Regions from separate parts of the Homo sapiens genome. Here all the other regions are linked to region 1. Evidence: promoter capture Hi-C in human tissues and cell types (Jung and others, 2019). All regions are on one chromosome and are shown on one strand. Each heading gives the region's core, a stretch centred on a gene start or on the middle of the fragment in contact. The rest is flanking DNA. Distances are from core to core; before and after follow the strand shown.

Region 1 (3,190 bases), core at 239-2,738:
GAGGCAGGAGAATCGCTTGAGTCTGGGAGGCGGAAGTTGCAGTGAGCCGAGACTGCACCACTGCATTTCAGCCTGGGTGATAGAGTGAGACTCCTTCTCAAAAAAAAAAAAAGTCCAAGTGAAACGGTCCCCTGCCTGCTGTGGCTTGTGTCATGGCCATAGGAAGCTGAGGTCCAACTCTCCATCCTGACTCCCCTTCTCTGGGAGCCTTTGTCCTCAACACGTATCTCTTCATGTCCTTATTCATTTTAAAAAGGGAATTCACTCTAAGAATCTTCTGAGAAGTTGCCGGCCCCACTCTGAGCCAGCTCTGGGTCCTTGGATGTCTGATAAGTGGTGGGCGAACCTCTCCCGTAAACAGGGGCTAGGAAGGAGGGGGTGGGATGGGGCCACTACACTTAGGAGGTGGGGTCCCCAGGCCCCTCCAGCTCGGGGAGGCCCTAGGCCTTTTGGTGGCGTTCTTTTAGGATTTTCACGTCTTGCAGCCCCGTGGACTGCAAGGTAGAGCATGGGCCACTCTATTTAGCCAGTCGCACTGAGGTCTGGCACCTCCTCGGTCCCCATCCCCTCCGTCCCCACCACCGCTCACCCCTCCAGGGTGGTGGGGACTCGGCTAGGCCTGGAGGGCGGCCTGGAGGAGGCAGACGGCCTGCGCGTGCCTCCGTGTGCGTGCTCACCCTGGCAAAGCTGAGCTCCTCGGCGGCGTCCTTCATGATACTCCCAGTCCGCACCCTATCGAACGCCCGCACGCCCACCTCCTGCTCCTCCGGCCACTCTAGCGCGGCCAGGTCAAGCCCGCTGGCCTGGGAGAAGTGCTGCACGTGCGTGGCGATGCCCTGCACCTGGCCGTCCACACGCTTGAGCTGCTTGCTCAGGTCCTCCACCTGGCCGCCCAGGTCCTTCACTTGGCTCTCCAGCGCTGACGAAGGCGCCTGGCCCACGCCCCTGCGCTTCTCCCGGGGCGCCCCCTTGGGCACCTCCTTGGGCGCGGGCAGGTGCGGGATGCTGAACGAGCTCCGGACGGACTGCAGCGAGCGGCTGGGCTCGGGCGACGAGGGCTGGAAGTCGATCCGGGTATTTTGGAGGTCGAGGTTCTTGAGCATGGCCACGATGAGCGTGTGCAGGGCCGTGAAGTTGACGGCGCCCACCTCTGGCGTGCCGATGGAGAGGTCCGCCAGCTCCCGGAGGGAGACCGTGGTCGCGGGCGGCATCGTGGCTGTCAGGAGCTGTGCGCCGCCGCGGGGCGCCGGCCAACCACTTCCCGCTCACTGCACGCCGCGCCTTGGGGCCTTTCGGGGGCCCTGCGAGGTCCTCGGGGCGCCCCTGCCCCGGGTCCGGCCGAGTCACTGGACAGAGCTCCTGCCTCCAGGGAATCTGCGCCTCCGCTCCCCGGCGGGGTCCGCGATGGCCACCCCTCCGCTGTCTGTCGCTGGCCTCGGGTCCCCGAGCTGGAGCCCTGGACTCCCAGTCCCCGCGCCGGCGGACGTTTGAAACGTGGGGGCCCCCGCGTGCCCTGAAGATTCCACGTAACAACACGCCTCCCTGCGAGCCACGGGGGCGGGGGGAAGTAAAGGCCACCACAAGGATCACAAGGGGAGCCTTGGCAACGGGCTGAGGAGGCCTCCTAAGATCCAGCTAGACTCCATCCATCCCCTTAACCTAGAAAGGCCAGGATTCACTCACTCTTGGCGGGGCCACATAAGGAAAGACTTGAGGGTTTCCTGGCAACCATGCTTTGTGTCATCAGCTGCGTCCATTCCAGAGTGGTGGCCCCATGTCTATGGCCCCATGTCTAAGGGATGCAGTCCTGGGGCCCTGGTCCCCTCAGACAGTCCACATATTTTGTTCAATCAAAGGTGAAGCAACTTGGAAAAGACAACCCACTCACTATTCAGGCAGTTCCAATTAGCCACTAGATGACTAACTGGTGGCTAATTGTCCCTTTTCTGTGCTGCCATAATTTTTTTTTTACTTTTGAGAGGGAGTCTTGCTCTGTCGCCCAGGCTGTAGTGCAATGGCACGATCTCGGCTCACTGCAACCTCTGCCTCCCGGGTTGACATGATTCTCCTGCCTCAGCCTCCCGAGTAGCTGGGATTACAGATGCGTGGTACCATGCCCGGCTAATTTTTTGTATTTTTAGCAGAGACGGGGTTTCACTATGTTGGCCAGGCTGGTCTTGAACTCCCGACCTCAAGTGATCGACCCACCTCGGCCTCCCAAAGTGCTGGGATTACAGGTGTAAGCCACCGCGCCCAGCCTGCCATAAATTAATTGATCTCAAAAAAACGGCCAGGCTTGGTGGCTCACACCTGTAATCCCAGCACTTTGGGAGGCCGAGGCGGGTGGATCACCTGAGGTAAGGGGTTCAAGGCCAGCCTAGCCAACATAGTGAAACCCCTCTGCTAAAAATACAAAAAATTAGCCGGGCATGGTACCGCGCATCTGTAATCCCAGCTACTCGGGAGGCTGAGGCAGGAGAATCGCGTCAACCCGGGAGGCAGAGGTTGCAGTGAGCCAAGATCGCACCACTGCACCCCAGCCTGGGCGACAGTGCAAGACTCTGTCTCAAAAAAAAAAAAAAAGAAAAGAAAAGAAACCACTCACCTGGTCAAGCGCCTGTGCTTGAGCTCATTACAAAGCAGGATTAAACAGCACGAGACAAATCTGGTGTTAACAATTGAGACATGACTTCCCCATACAAGATTCTTCCCAAAAACGTATAAATAAAACTTCCTAACAGAAGCACAGCAAGGCTACTTAAAGAGAACCTATGAATGTGTGCCATGCATGGCCAGCCTCCTCCGTGAGCTCTGCATCTGCAGATTTAACCAACCACGACTGAACACGTACAGATTCCTGTCATGATTCTCTAAATAATACAGCATGACCACCATCTACACAGGATATTGCAGTAGGTATTACAAGTCATCCAGGATGTGCATAGCTTATATGCAGATACTACACCATTTTCTATCAGGGACTTGCACATCCATGGGCAGGAGGTTGAGTCCTGGAACCAATCACCCATGGATTGTAAGGAATAACTGTACTATTTTAACTACTGTTCAAGTTCAGATTTTTCACTTCAGCCTGAGAGGTACTGTTTATTTAATTGAAGGATTTTCGATCATCATTATATTCCAATAACTTGGGACACAGTAGGCCTTTAAGGGGTTATCAAAATAACTA
Region 2 (3,190 bases), core at 503-3,002, 57 kb before region 1:
ACTGCACTCCAGCCTGGGTGACAGAGCGAGACTCCATCTCAAAAGCAAAAACAAAGCAAAAAAAATCCCTTCTTTAACAAAGAGATTAGCTTCCAAAAAAATAATTTTTAAGGCTAGGCGTGGTGGCTCACGCCTGTAATCCCAGCACTTTGGGAGGCCGAGGCAAGCAGATCACGAGGTCAGGAGATCGAGACCATCCTGGCCAACATGGTGAAACCCCATCTCTACTAAAAATACAAAAAAAAATTAGCCAGGTGTGGTGGCGGGCACCTGTAGTCCCAGCTACTTGGGAGGCTGAGGCAGGAGAATGGTGTGAACCCAGGAGGCAGAGCTTGCAGTGAGCCGAGATTGAGCCACTGCACTCCAGCCTGGGTGACAGTGAGAGACTCCGTCTCAAATAATAATAATAATAATAATTTTAAAGTCAGAGTTTCTGGATTTCCAAGTCAGGATATGTATTTGAGAGTCTGCCCAAGATGAAACCGAGGTCCACGCACTTCCCATACCAGGTGAAGGCAGAGCCCAGGGGTTTCGATTTCCTGAGACATCACTTTTCTGTGTTCATTGAAACTCAAAATGCCAGAAACATGTCTCCCTTATCACGTGTGGTGGCTGCTAAAGGGCCAGAGAAAAAGATAGCCCAGCCCTGCTCCTTCTTAACAAAGTACTGCCAACAAGTCACTGCACTAGAAGAAAGCAAGGCCCCTAATCGGCCCTCTTGCCCCTGCTGTCTGGATTAGCCATCTGTGGACGTGTGTGGTGTGTGTATTTGCGGATGTGTGTATTTGTGGGTCAGAGTTTGTCTGCCATTGTTTTGGGGGGTTTGCTTTTTGTTTTGAGATACGGTCACCAGGCTGGAATACAGTGGCATGAACGTGGCCCACAGCAGCCTCGACCTCCTGTGCTCAGGCGATCCTCCCACCTCAGCCTCCTGAGGAGCTGGGACTAAAGTGCGCCACCACACCCGGCTATTTTTTTTAAGAGATAGGGTCTCACTATGTTGCCCAGGTTGGTCTCGAACTCCTGGGCTCAGGTGATCCTCCCGCCTCAGCCTCCCAAAGTGCTGGAATTATAGGCGTGAGCCACCGTGCACGGCCTTCTGCCATTGTTAACTTCTCACTTAAGTGCCATTTGCTAACTAGAAAGAATGTTCAAGTTCACTGAGTTGGGGCCAGCTCTCCAGGGCTCATAGTTCAGGAATTTTGCCAGCCAGTTGTTAAATTGTTGGTAGCGTAATGGGAGTATTTACAACACAGAAACCATCAAATGCTGCAAATCACAGCTTCCTCCCATTCTCCAGAGCCAGTTTACCAGCATACCCCTGGTCTTAGGTTTCTTCTAATCCCCCAGAAGGGCTGGGTACATTGCTTCCCATATAGAAAGTGCTCACTAAATGAATGACTATTTAGTTGTTGTTGTTGTTGTTGTTTTGAGACGGAGTCTCCCTCTGTAGCCCAGGCTGATGTGCAATGGCGCAATCTTGACTCACTGCAACCTCTGCCTCCCAGGTTCAAGTGATTCTCCTGCCTCAGCCTCCCGAATAGCTGGGATTACAGGTGAATGCCACCATGCCCAGCTAATTTTTGTATTTTTAGTAGAGATAGGGTTTCACCATGCTGGTAAGGCTGGTCTTGAACTCCTGACCTCAGGTGATCCACCTGCCTTGGCCTCCCAAAGTGCTGGGATTATAGGCGTGAACCACCGAGCCCAGCCAAGAATAGTCATTTTTGAGCAATGACTCTGTCCAAGCACTTTGGAATGCGTTGTCACCCGAGCTGGAGTGCAGTGGTGTGATCACAGTTCACTGCAGTCTCAACCTCCTGGGCTCAAGCGATCCTCCCACCTGAGCCTCATTTAATCTTCAAAACAACCCTAAGAGATAAGTATTATTGTTCCCACTTCCCAGATGAGGAAACTGGAACTCAAGTAGGCACAGGGAGCAGGAACTGGCCCCAGGTTCTTCCAGGTTCAAAGTCCTACATTTTACCCATGGATCATCATCTCACCAGCCTCTGTGGGGAAAGCCTGCCTGGGTGCCAGCCCTACTGCCCACCAAGCTAGCGGAGTGATTCTCCCAGGGTGGTGCCAGTGACAAAGGGCAATGCATGGGGACGTCTCCATCATTGTCACACCACCACCTCCACCTTCACTGTGCCTCTCTCTAGGTTTAATCTTTCTTCCTTTTCCTCCTCACTTCCCTCTGTATTATCAATCTCCTTCCTGTATCGGGACTATTTCCTCAACAGGCCCGGGGAAGCTCTTGTCTATGGAAGTCCTCTTTGGCCTTAAGCTTCCCTCTAAGAGCTCCAGCAGATGAGTAACCTGTCCTCCTGCAAACACTGCCATGAAGTGCGTAGGCAGCTGCCTGCCTTCAGGGCTGGATGGACACCCTGTTTCCTTGCTCAATCCCTTCTGATGACTGGACTCTGTACACAGTGTGGTCAGTGGGTCAGCTCTGATCTGGAAGCTCCCAAAGGCAGGACACAAGATTTTCTCTGACTGTTCCCAGGCCCCAGGGCGTGTTGGGCACGGGAGCGTGTGGCACGGATGTTGTTCGTGATGAGGCATATTCTAGTGGTTTCCCAATTCGGTTGTGTACAACCCAGTGCTCTAGTGTTCAGTAAATACTTCCTTCCTCTTTAGGCAGAACACTGGCTCTGTGTTTTATTAACAGCACCTCATGCCTGGCCCAAAGAATGATTTGTGTGGCTTGGGCTGTTGGGGTCAGAAATGGCATTCATTCATCATTCACTCTGGAGGTGCTGTGTTTCTGAAGGAGAAGGGGACCTATCCTGGCAAACAAATCAGGGGCTTTATGGTAAACAAACTCCTCTCTTCCCAGCACTTGTTTCTTGCTCTCTGTTTTTGATTTTCTCTCTCTTTCACTTTTTTTTTTTTTTCACTATACCCGGGCTTCCTGAGTTCCTGACAATTTCTAAAGCCTCAAGCATGATCTCATCAGAAACTCTGGCTTCTTTTAACATTTCTTTCCCTTCTGCTGAGTCCTAGTCCATTTAAATTTCCTCTGTGACTCTGGGAATTTTTTTTCCTTGAGACACAGTCTCGCTCTTGTTGCCCAGGCTGGAAGTGCAATGGGCTGATCTCAGCTCACTGCAATCTCTGCCTCCCAAGTTAAAGCGATTCTCCTGCCTCAGTCTCCCAAGTAGCTGGGACTACAGGCATGCACCAC
Region 3 (3,190 bases), core at 567-3,066, 39 kb before region 1:
CCAGATACTACAGCCATTCTGAGGGGCTGAGAACAGGGAGGCTCCCCAGGAAGAGCTGGTCTGGCATCCTGTTTAGTTCCTATTGCCCCTCCTCTGCAAATCCCAAGGAGATGCTAAGTCTCTTTTGAAGCTTCCCTCAAGGAAGGCAGCAGGTTTTGTAACACACATAACCAGTGTGTCCATCAGTGCCCAAGTCTGAGTGCCTTAGCAGCACAGTGGAGGACACCATCCCTGCTCTCAAAAAGTTCATGGTTTCTTTTTTTTTTTTTTTTTTTTTCTAATTTTATTTTTGAGAAAGGCCAGGGCAGGGGGAGTCTCTATGTGGCCCAAGCTGGTCTTGAACTCCTGGCCTCAAGCTATCCTTCCGCCTCAGCCTCCCGAAGTGCTGGGATTATAGGTGTGAGCCACTGCACCCAGCTGGCAATTTCTTTTCTTTTTTTTTTTTTTTGAGACAGAGTTTCACTCTTATTGCCTAGGCGGAGTGCAATGGTGTGATCTCGGCTCACCGCAACCTTCACCTCCTGGGTTCAAACGATTCTCCTGCCTCATGGGATTACAGGCACGTGCCACCTGTAATCCCACACCTGGCTAATTTTGTATTTTTAGTAGAGACGGGGTTTCTCCATGTTGATCAGGCTGGTCTCGAACTCCCAACCTCAGGTGGTCCGCCTGCCTCGGCCTCCCAAAGTTCAGGGATTACAGGCGTGAGCCACTGCACCCGGCCTGGCAATTTATTTTGGACAAAGTAAGTCAAAGGAAAAAGATCAAAAAACGAAACACTAGAGACCAGTAACAGCAAAATGGCAAAACCAGAAGTCATGAGTAACTGATAAATGGTTGTCCCGTACATTACTGTAGATTCCCATAGTTGGAAGCTTCCCAGTTGATAAGGAGGGCTTCCCAGTTGGAAGTGGAGAAAGGCACTACAGACTTGAAGTGGGAGGACAAAGGTACAGGGGACAATGGGTTTTCTTGAGAACTGGCCGAGAGGGCATATCTGGTTCAAAACCCTCATTTTACAAAAGCAGAGAGAAGCTCCAGAGAGGTTCAGGAACTTGCCCAAGCTTACACAGGCAGGCCACCACAGGCCTGCCAGCCATCATCCCTGCTGTTCTCTGGCGGCTGTTTGAGGAGACAGGCCTCGCTGGCTGGCGGGGAACTGGGGAAGTCGGTCACGATGCTGTGATGCAATTGGCCTCCACCCCCACCCTTCATTCATTGTTTCCTGCTGCCGAGAAGTCATCCCCAGAGGGTGGGGGGGGGGCAGGGAGTAGTGGAGGGAGGAGGGGAAAGGTCTGGGTGGGGCCAGGCCTCTGCATTGGGTCCTTTGGCCTCCCCCTGAGGACCCCTAGAAAGGCAAGGGTCAGAGCTCCCTTGGTGCCCTGGGTGCTGACATGGTGTGGGGCTCAATGGACAGGGTGTGCTAGTGTCCCCATTCCATGTATGTTACACACCCCCTACACAACCTCCGGTTTCTAGCTGTGAAAGCTCCCTCTGTTTTTTTTTTTTTTTTTTTTGAGACGGAGTTTTGCTCTGCCACCTAGGCTGGAGTGCAGTGACGTGATCTCAGCTCACTACAACCTCCACCTCCCGGGTTCAAGTGATTCTCCGGCCTCAACCTCCCAAGTAGCTGGGATTATAGACGCCCATCACCACACCCAGCTAATTTTTGTATTTTTTAATAGAGACAGGGTTTCACCATGTTGGTCAGGCTGGTCTCGAACTCCTAACCTCAGGTGATCCACCCGCCTCGGCCTCCCAAAGTGCTGGGATTACAGACGTGAGCCACTGCGCCCTGCCAAAGCTCCCTCTTTCAAGGTGAAGAGCCCTCAAGTCGTTCCCCCAACTCCTGCGCCTGGGGGAGGGGCCAGTGTTGCTAAAATTAGGAGAAATTCAAAGAAGGACTCCTGTGGCTTCCTGGGAAAGGGAGAAAGCAGCTTTGAGGTCCCAGCCAGTTTTGTGTGGTCTTGTTCTCTGTGTTGCCTCTTGCCCATGCTGCTGACGAGGTGCTCCTGGATGGCACTCCAGCCCCTGCCCCCAGGGTAGTGACAGAAGACAGCAGATGGGGGACTGTAGCTACCCCCAGGAAGAGGACTGAGGGGCTGGACAGACTGAGAAACTGCCAGCCTGCAGGCAAGGGCAGGCCAGCTGTGTTTGTGGCCTGAGGCTACAGACACAGGACATTGAAATCCCTGGTTTGTGTCCTCAAGGGGCCCAGATATAAAGGGGCTCTTGACTCTGTGCAGCGTGGCCCAGTAGATGTTAAGAGCTTGGGCCTGCAGACTTGGGAGCTGGGGAGGTCCGTCTTCTCAACTTGCCCTCTGCTGTGGGTGCATTTTCGGGCAAGTGACTTGACTTCTGGGCCTCAGTTTCCTCATTTGTCATAAAGAGAGGATAATTGAAGCCACTAAGTGTCATTGTTAAGGGAGGCAAAGCCTTCAAGGCCTGGTGGCTGTCACCCTTAGTGTGGTGTGAACCCATCCACCAAGGTGGCTTAACTTTTCCAGGGTTGGCACAGGAGGGAGAGCCTCCCCGCTGGCCGCTCTCCCTTGCCTAGCAGCCTGGGAGCATCTGAGGGTGGCTGGTGGGGCAGTCAGCTGGTCTCCCTGCCCAGGGAAGGTGCGGAACAGTGGTGTCCTGGGCTGCCCCCTTGCCCTTTCACTTTAATCTGACACCTTAGCTCCTGGGTGCAATTAACCATTTACTTTGAATGCTCCTCGGGGTGTCATTTCCAGGCCTCATGAAACCCCGTTGGTTTTGATAAGGTTCTTGGGTTTTGTCCTTGTTTTCTGTTTGTATTGCCTCGGGGAGAGGGCACTTTTGTCCTGTGGAAGCTGCTTGTGCGAAAATGAATGAAGCTGAAAAATGGGAGTAAAGGAGCGGCTGGCCTGGGTAAGCCCCATCCAGTGGCTCGGGGACCCCCGAGGCAGCCTCCCCACACCCGTGTTCTCTCCCGCAGATGTGCACTCCCAGCAACACCCCTGCCACGCCGCCCAACTTCCCCGATGCGCTGGCCATGTTCTCCAAGCTCCGCGCCTCCGAGGGCCTGCAGAGCAGCAACAGCCCCATGACAGCCGCAGCCTGCTCCCCACCTGCAAACTTCAGCCCCTTCTGGGCCTCGTCCCCGCCCAGCCACCAGGCGCCCTGGATCCCGCCCTCCTCCCCCACCACCTTCCACCACCTCCACCGC

What was found. The method cuts DNA at HindIII sites, captures the fragments that hold promoters and counts their contacts. A contact is called where the count stands out against the background at its distance.
Region 2: a contact is called between a fragment that was not itself captured here and the fragment with the promoter of QRICH2 in region 1, in 4 of the 25 tissues and cell types used here (IMR-90 fibroblasts, heart left ventricle, mesendoderm cells and 1 more).
Region 3: a contact is called between a fragment that was not itself captured here and the fragment with the promoter of QRICH2 in region 1, in 3 of the 25 tissues and cell types used here (heart left ventricle, hippocampus and pancreas).

The regions. Positions count from the first base shown.
Region 1 is chr17:76,306,788-76,309,977 of GRCh38, forward strand. It overlaps QRICH2 (glutamine rich 2), which reads right to left and starts at 1,489. Exons shown (of 19, transcript NM_001388453.1): 1 at 678-1,489. The coding sequence starts at 1,211. It overlaps PRPSAP1 (phosphoribosyl pyrophosphate synthetase associated protein 1), which reads right to left. Exons shown (of 10, transcript NM_002766.3): 10 at 2,691-3,190. The HindIII fragment of the contact is 11,814 bases long and covers 1-3,190 here.
Region 2 is chr17:76,249,797-76,252,986 of GRCh38, forward strand. The region is part of intron 5 of LOC105371896 (a long non-coding RNA gene); the gene reads right to left. Among named protein-coding and RNA genes, the nearest start is that of RNF157, 11 kb to the left of the region's middle. RefSeq lists an enhancer at 2,314-2,383. The HindIII fragment of the contact is 5,873 bases long and covers 1-3,190 here.
Region 3 is chr17:76,267,235-76,270,424 of GRCh38, forward strand. It overlaps UBALD2 (UBA like domain containing 2), which reads left to right. Exons shown (of 3, transcript NM_182565.4): 3 at 2,960-3,190. Among named protein-coding and RNA genes, the nearest start is that of UBALD2, 3.5 kb to the left of the region's middle. RefSeq lists enhancers at 897-1,126, 2,827-3,016. The HindIII fragment of the contact is 4,243 bases long and covers 1-3,190 here.